2 separate regions of the Homo sapiens genome follow, and region 1 is linked to region 2. The links are contacts of gene promoters, found by promoter capture Hi-C in human tissues and cell types (Jung and others, 2019). All regions are on one chromosome and are shown on one strand. Each heading gives the region's core, a stretch centred on a gene start or on the middle of the fragment in contact. The rest is flanking DNA. Distances are from core to core; before and after follow the strand shown.

What was found. Contacts are between HindIII fragments. The study calls those that stand out against the background at their distance.
Region 1: a fragment that was not itself captured here is called in contact with the fragment with the promoter of DCDC1 in region 2 in 1 of the 25 tissues and cell types used here (adrenal gland).

What each region holds. Positions count from the first base shown.
Region 1 is chr11:31,405,662-31,409,942 of GRCh38, forward strand. All of the region lies in intron 2 of DNAJC24 (DnaJ heat shock protein family (Hsp40) member C24), which reads left to right. Among named protein-coding and RNA genes, the nearest start is that of DNAJC24, 38 kb to the left of the region's middle. The HindIII fragment of the contact is 5,144 bases long and covers 1-4,281 here.
Region 2 is chr11:31,366,787-31,370,988 of GRCh38, forward strand. It overlaps DCDC1 (doublecortin domain containing 1), which reads right to left and starts at 2,953. Exons shown (of 39, transcript NM_001387274.1): 1 at 2,911-2,953. It overlaps DNAJC24 (DnaJ heat shock protein family (Hsp40) member C24), which reads left to right and starts at 3,074. Exons shown (of 5, transcript NM_181706.5): 1 at 3,074-3,126; 2 at 3,930-4,073. The coding sequence starts at 3,963. RefSeq lists an enhancer at 2,887-3,366. The HindIII fragment of the contact is 7,317 bases long and covers 2,522-4,202 here.

The DNA of each region.
Region 1 (4,281 bases), core at 1,299-3,798, 38 kb after region 2:
CCAGGCTGGTCTCAAACTCCTGGCTTCATGCAGTCCTCCCGCCTCAGCATCCCAAAGTGCTGGGATTACTTACAGATGTGACCCCCTGCACCCAGAGTGGTCATTTATAATGAAAAAAAATTTATTGGCTCACAGTTCTGGAGGCTGGGAAGTCCAATATTAAATGGCCAGCATCTGGCAAGAGTTTTCTGTTTACTGCTGTCCCATCCCATGACTAGCAAACTCAAGCGCCTGCTACATAGGCAAAAGGGGGGCCAAAATTAGCCTTTTATAAGGAATCCACTCCAGAAATATAACATTAGTCTATTCATGAGGGCAGAGCAGTCATGGCCCAATCACTGCTGAAAGGTACTACCTCCTAGTACTGTCACAATGACAATGAAATTTAACATGAGTTTTGGATTGGGCACACGTTCAAATCATAGCAGCTACAAATCCTTTTTTTTTTCCAAATGTATTCTTTTGAATGCATTCCTCTTAGTGTTTGTTTCCTCTATATCTCATTCCTCAATTTGAAAAGTATTTGAAGGGAGATCATTGGGCTGAAGCATTTTCATATCATTTTTTCATAGTTTCAATGTAATAGAATGACATAGTAAATACTTGTTCACTAGGAAAGAGTATGAGAGAAAAGGCACTTAAGTGCAGTACCTCAGACTAAACCTAAAATTTATCTCTCCTCCTGTATGTTGCTGACTAAAATCAGTAAGTTTCATATTTTGTACTTTTGGGGAAAATATTAAACACACAGCTTAAATATACAAATATTTATGAAGGATACTTGTGCGAAGAGGCACTGTGCTGATCTTTGCACAGATATGGATATAGTTAAAATACGGTGTTTATATATTCAGTGTTTAATACTTGTAATAGATAAAGCTTGAATGGTAGGTTGTGGTTCTTATATTGTAGGACTTTACTTTTAAGGATAAAGAGTTTCACTGTAATTCACTATGCATTAGTTGGCCCTTTAAAATTTATGAGCTGGGGAATGACATGGTCAGAGTTATGTTGAGTGACTTTGAAGCAGGTAAGATGGATTGGAAAGCTGTTAGAAGATGATTGCTGGGGACTAGTTAGGAGCTAATGTTGGTCTGTACTAGGTTTGGTATTGGGAATAGAAAGGAAATTATGTAGGTATAATCTATAGATTTGGCAGTTCATGGGAGGAGGGAAAGAGGGGTTACCCTAATATTGATAGTCTGGATTATTAGAAAAATTTTTCCCCTCTCATCCATTCATTTAGCATTTATTGAGCGTGGAGTTATTTTTTAACAGAGCAAGGAATTCAACAGGAGGATAAACAAATTTTAGAGTCTGGATAATATATTGGATATCAAACATATTAAACTTGTGCTGACAAGGTAGCTTCTAGAAAGTATTTCAAAATTTGGTTCTAGAATTCAAGAAAATTTGAAGCTAGAGACAGAGAGCTAGCATCCTATTGATGGTACTAAAACTCATCTATTAATACATAGGGAAAACCAAAGTGCTATGTCCTCAAGTGCCACATTGATAAATCAAGTAATATTAGCCTATTTGGGGATTTCTGTGTAATCAGATTTGCCCAGAGTCCTTTTCATGGTTTATTGTTACTTCTTATGTATAGTTTATATTTTATGTATCAAAACAGCACAATCACAAGTGTGTAGTTAAGGATTAATATATGTAGCCACTTTACCATAAAACTCTTACGTGTTTACTGTAAAGAAATATCATTTCATTTCAACTTTATATGTTGTGTAGCCAATAGAAAATATCATTTGGAGCTAATGAATATATAATATTCACAAGGTGGATGGATTACTTGAGTCTTGGAGTTGGAGACCAGCCTGGGCAATATGGAAACCTCATCTCTACAGAAAATACAAAAATTAGCCAGGTGCGGTGGTATATGCCTGTGGTTCCAGCTACTTGGGAGGCTGAGGCGGGAGGATCGCTTGAGCCTGGGAGGCAGAGGTTGCAGTGAGCCAGGATCACTCCATTACACTCCAGCCCAGATGACAGAGAGAGATCCCATCTCAAAAAAAAAAAAAAAAAAAAAAATATATATATATATATATAAAATTTTTCACTAAAATCTTTTAGAAGTTGCTAGAATTTTCACACTGCATTGTATGATGCTATTTTCATAATTTTACATGCTTCATTTCTTAGTTGAAAAACTTGTTTCTGTGCTAAATTTATCAGTGGGTATCATCATTAGTGTTAAGTAGGTGAAGCCTGATACAAATTATGCCCCTCTCTTAAAAAAAAAAAAATAAACAGGTTAAAATACCACTGGCATATTGTTCACATTTCATCAGCATCTTCATCTGTGACATAAGATGGTATCAATACAAACAGTGGAATGAAGAAGTTGACATTTATGATTAGTGAACGAAAGGTATCAAATATAAAAAAAATTCCGACTTGAAACACATTGCAATTTTCATTGTGGTGTTACAGGTTATTGGATTTTTTCCCCCTCTTTTTGGTGTACATACTTGGAAGGACGCATCTGTCACAGGAAAATTTTTGTGAAGCACTCATCTTCTGACTTGCCCATGAATTCCTTGTTTTAAGCAGTCAAGGCAAACAGTGTGCTTCTCAAATTTTAGCACGCGTAACAGTTGCTTGGAGAGCTTGGTGAAACAGAGATTCTGGAGTCCTCCCTCTGAAGATTTGAGGTGAGTCCCAAGAATTGATATTTGTAACAAGCTCTCAGATGATGCTGATGCTGCAGTTCTGAGGACCACATTTTGAGTAGCACTGAGGTGACACATTGTGACAGTCACTCTGGAATTAGTAATTTAGAAAGCACTTAGACTTAATATGTAGAGAGACTTTAAAATCAAAATAAAATATTTCATACTGGACAGCCCATTGCCATAAAATCTCAGCTGATGAGAATTAAGATTTCATAACTGAAGTGTTACTTATCCATGAAATAGTCATTTAGAAAACAGATAACACATACCAATCCTGATGAAATATTATATCATTTCCTGTATATCTTTTGTAGTACCATGAATGATCCTTTATTTTTGTATCAAGAAAGTTTCTTAATCTATTTTTGTGTTAGTTTTTCTTATTCTCAATGAATGATATGGTAATTTAAAGAAGAATTTAAGTTTATGTAATTGAAAATTTTCCCCAAAATTTGAGGAAATTACTTAGATCATACAGTTATAGGTGTGAAGTCATTTCAGAGTAATAAAATAGCACTTTACTGAAATTTTGGAAATAGATGTCTTTGTATAATAAAGAATCACACAGATACTATCACTCTCAGTATTTCTAATATTGTGACATATTTATGGTATTTTAATTTTGGATGCATTTTGGCTTTCTACTCAACAATGCTTAGCCTTTTAAAATGTTTTGAAGTTATTAGAGTTGGCAAATGTGCTTGAAAGTAATAAAACAATTTCCATAAACTAGTGTGTAATTCAAGCTTTTCACTAATTCATGTTAGTTTTTCCATTAATTTTTTGGTTTTCTGTTGTACTTGTTTTTCTATTAATGGAAGAAATTCCTTATTTTTCCTTTATGGCTTAGAAAGATTTGCTAAATTCCTTTTTAAAAATTTAGACATGTCTGAAGATGTTTTTCTGTTGATATTGTCAACATAAAATGAAAAATGCACAGATCTTAAGTGTTAAGTTTGGTGAGTTTGATATCATGTAAATACCACCCCAAATAAGATATAGCACATTTCTGTGCCTCCAGCAAGTTCCCTCATGCCCCTCTTTCTTAATTTCCACTACCTGTTCTCACCTGGAAACCAACTTTTTGGTTTCTGTCGCCACAGATTAAATGTACCTAAATTGGGATTTCATGTTCATGTAATCATACAGTATGTACTTTTTGTTCTTGCTTCTTTTACTTAACATATATTTTAGATACTCATTTGTGTTATTGAGTGTGTCATAATTTGTTCTTTTTTAATTGTTGAGGAATATTTCTCTTCTATGGATTTAAATAAAATGTATTTACCTATTCTGCAGTTGATAGACATTTATGGTTCCAGTGTTTTAGTAAGACTGTTATGAATAAGACTGTTAATCTATTCTTCTATGAATCTTTTCGTGGATGTGTGATTTTCATTTTTATTGATCATGGAGTAAATGTATATGTAACTTTATAAGCAATTGCCAAATTGTTTCCTGTCAGCAGTATATGAGAATTCTGGTTATTTCATATCTTATCAACACTTGGTGTTATCAGCATTTTTTTTTCTTTTTCTTTTTTTTTTTTTTGAGACAGAGGCTTGCTGTGTCATTTAGGCTGGAGTGCAGT
Region 2 (4,202 bases), core at 1,703-4,202:
TTCCTCACTGACTAAAATTAGGGGTTTATATAACAGGGAAGAAATGTTAACTACGTATGAGAAAACAGGAACTAAGGAAGGGTAAGGAAACAATAACGAAGAATGAGGGGTCTGGCATATCACTGTCTAGATGCAGTAATCTGGTGAGTTTCAGCTCTTTGATACTTGTTGAGAGGTCTGGGCATCCTTTCTTGAGGAAGGAACTGAGATAAAGATCAACAAAATGTGGCTGGGCGCAGTGGCGCATGCCTGTAATCTCAGCACTTTGGGAGGCTGAGGCAGGCAGATTGCTTGAGCTCAAGAGTTCCAGACCAGCCTGGCCAACATGGTGAAACTCCATCTCTACAAAAAAAAATACAAACATTAGCCAGGCATAGTGGCATGCACCTGTGGTCCCAACTACTTGGGAATCTGAGGTGGGCAGATGACTTGAGCCTGGGAGGTAGAGGCTGCAGTGAGCTGAGATCATGCCACTGCACTCCAGACTGGACACCAGGGCAAGACTCTGTCTCAAACAAGCAAACAAAAAGATAAAACAAATGCAAGTTTCAAGCTTTCAGAAAAGAAGTGTCCATTTCTATGTTTATTAATTTAAAAAACCCCAATAAACAAAACTAAACAAACAAACAAAACCCTGTCTATGGGACTGTTGGGTTGATTTCAGTACCATGAAAAGATCCAATTGTTTAAATGTTTAATGTATGGAGATAATAGGGGAGGTTGGAAAAGTAAGGATCATATTGAAGAGGTAACTTGAATGCTAGGTTAAGGAGTTAGGACTTTATTCTCTAGACCTGCCCTGCTGGATACAGTAGCCACTAGTCACATGTGGCTACTGAGCATTTGAAATGTGCTAGTTCAAATTGAGGTGTGTTCGGGCACAATACATACCAGCTTTTGAAGACTTAGTAGGAGAAAAGAATGTAAAGTATCGCCTTAATAATTTTTAGATTAATTAATTTTGTAGCTTGCACTTACGGCTTACATTATATTTCTATTGGAAAGTACTGCTCTATAAAATGAAAAATGAAGGAAGCTTAATGATCAGAAATTTATGTAAAAATTGTTTTAAGAAGTTTATTTTGGTATAAGCAGAGTGTAAGACAACTGTTCTCATTCAGTAAGCCAATGGCAAGTAAAGAAAAAAACAAGGTTCTAGTGAAGAAATGGGACTGCTATAATTTAAAAGATATTTAAGAGACAGAACAGCTAAATGGAAAGTGTACATTTTGTCTGATTCTGAGTCAAGCAAACCAACCAGAAAAAGACATTTTCAATTAACCGTGGAAATGTAAGTAAGGTCTAGATATTATGTGACAGTCCAATAATGACATTATGGAGATAAAAGAAAAAGTTGGTACATTTTAGGGATGCAAACTAAAGTATGTAGAGATGAAATGACAAAATATTTGGTATTGCTGGGGAAAAAAACTATTTCTTACTTTCCAAACCCCAATAAATAAATAAGGTAACACAATAACCTAATAAATAGTAAATCAAAATAAAATGCTTTTGCTGTAAAAAACAAAAAACCTGGAGTACCGGAGCATATCTACCTACACAAGGAAGAACCAAGCTGTGGACAGAAGGGAGTTTGAGGGCTAGAGATGTTCAAGGTGGCATCATTCTGACAGTACTGTTTAGAAAAGCATTCACCACACTACTTAATTCCATTGCTTTAGGTATTTTCATGAGGCCACACAAGAAAGTATGATGCAGCCAGGACTAAAACCAGATGCTCTTTGTATCTGCCTTTAAACATGACAAAACCCTGTGGAGAACCTAATCTATGCTTTCATCTTTAGATTTTTAAACTTGCTTGTTTCATTCAGTTATTCTTTATAGTTCATAACATCATTAAATAACTGATCATATTAGATTATTTTATTTATTCTGCTTAAGTTTATCTTGACTGCTTCTCAAACTCAGATTGGTAGAAGTTTAAAAAAGAAGGAAAGCAAAATCAAAGCAGTAACAACAAAACCATTTTAACATCTCCAAGTGAAATTTATGTCATGCTGGCCAAAAATAAGATGTAGTTTTCATCTCCAGGTACAATGCTAGGAAGAGGTGTTAATGTAAAGTAAGCAGCACAAAGAAGTAATAAAAGGAAACACAGGAATCAAGAAAGGGAGAAGAAAGAAAGGTGAGAAAAACACCACCACCACCACCACCACCACCACCAGCAACAATAACAAACCCCAACAGTGCCCATATGCAGTGCCCCCTAACTGCTTCGAAGAAGAACAGTTCATTCTGCTTTTTTCTGTAAGCTTGAAAGATAGCATAGCTGCCCTGGGAATGTGTAGACTTGCTGAGTCCTTGTTCTGCCCCTACCCAACTAGCTGTTTGGCCTTGATCCTTGATTTCTTTCCTCATCTATAAAGTGGGAATAATGGCACCTGCCTTACTTGTCTCACTGGGTTGAAATGAAAGCGAAGTGAAATAGCAAATGTGAAAGAATTTTGGAACGTTTTTATGTTGTAAGTTGGTTGCTAAGGTCTAAAAGAAATATTAATAATTACGTCGAATATCTTCTGCAGAAAAAATTAAACCGACCCCATCCCCCGCACATCTAGCCCTACCTGGCATAGGTTTTAGTTCTTTTAATTTTCGAATTAGAACATTGTAAAGGAACTGTAGGGACGAGAGTGGCATCAGGTCTCCTCATCCTTCTCACATCCTTGCCCCCGCACCCCTCTCTCACCCCAGAGTTCAAGCACCAACCGAAAAGATTGAGAGTAGCTCAGGGTACGGTAAACGGAGGAAGCTTTGAAAAAGGCGGGGAAAGCCTGGGATGGCGAGGGGGTGCTCGCTGAGGAGGAGGAGAGAAGCGACAGTCGCGGGGCCCGGAAAAGAGAGACTTAGAGCGAAGCCAAAGGCGCCTTTCTTCACAGTTTGGGAACTTACTGGTAGTAAACGCCACTCCATAGAAGCGGTGACCGGTTACCATAGAGACCGCGTCGGGGTGGGCGGAGCGTCGCTTCTGAGCTGTGCCACGGCCACATCAGCTCGGCCAGAAACGCGAACACGTCGGAACAGTGACTTCCGGCGGAAGAAGAAGCCGGTCCGGAGTTCTGGCCGACAGCAGGCGAGGAGTGGGTAGCAGCGCCTATGTGAAGTTAGGTAGGTCTGATGTCGTATAAAGCGCGGAGAGGGTGCCCGCCAATGGCTGGGTGGGTAAAGCCGACTGTGAATGGAGAAGATTCCCAAGTCCCGAGCTTGAGGAGGCCCCGGCTGTTTCGTTAAGTGTATATAGCTGTGGGAAGAGGTTGCCTGATTTCTGGGGCTCCTGGTAGGGTCTCTCTTCTGGAGCGTGGAAGACTGGGGCATCCTCGCGTAGAGAGTTTCACTCTGTCTTTGCGAGGTCTCAGCGCCTCTCCAATAACAGGGGACTCTTGTTCTCTACCAGCTGGTGCTGACGTTATTTCCCATATCATGCTCTCCAGACAATCTGGAGGAAAAGCAAACGAGAAACTTTCAGAAGGAATGCCCCCAAATTTATTTTAATTCTTTGATGTTCTGTTTTGCTTTTTTTTTATTCGTTCATTTTGTAAATATTCATTAAGCTCCTCCAGCGTGTTTAGTGGGTGCTTACTTGTGTGCCAGTTTTATCATAAGACTAGCAGAAATACCTTCTTAGAGGTTCATACACCACCTGGTTCATTATAAAATTCTTTTTTTTAATGCTGTTCATTAATTAAAGTATAAATATATATCGTGAAATACCTAACACGTTTTCCATACTTGTCGGTACACTTATACCTGGAATTCTTGGGGCATTTTAAATGAAAATCTGTGCTTCCTCAGGTTTGCATTATAATCATGATTTACTCGACTAAATACTAAAGAATTTACAAGGGCAGTACTTAATTTTTTCTTAGATACATGGCAAACTGTGATGAATTGTCATTAATATTTCTATTCAGCTAATCTGAGAAGGCCCACTTCTGGTTCCATGGATGATGGCGGTTGAGCAGATGCCAAAAAAGGATTGGTACAGCATCCTGGGAGCAGACCCATCTGCAAATATATCAGACCTAAAACAAAAATATCAAAAACTCATATTAATGGTAAGTCTTTTCTTTCAGATTTTAAATCATGAGGGGAAAAAAATCAATTTTTATATGAAACCACAAATTTAGGTTTCCAGAAAATAGGATACCAGTGGCAGGAATCCAGGTATTAATTTGATTTAATTG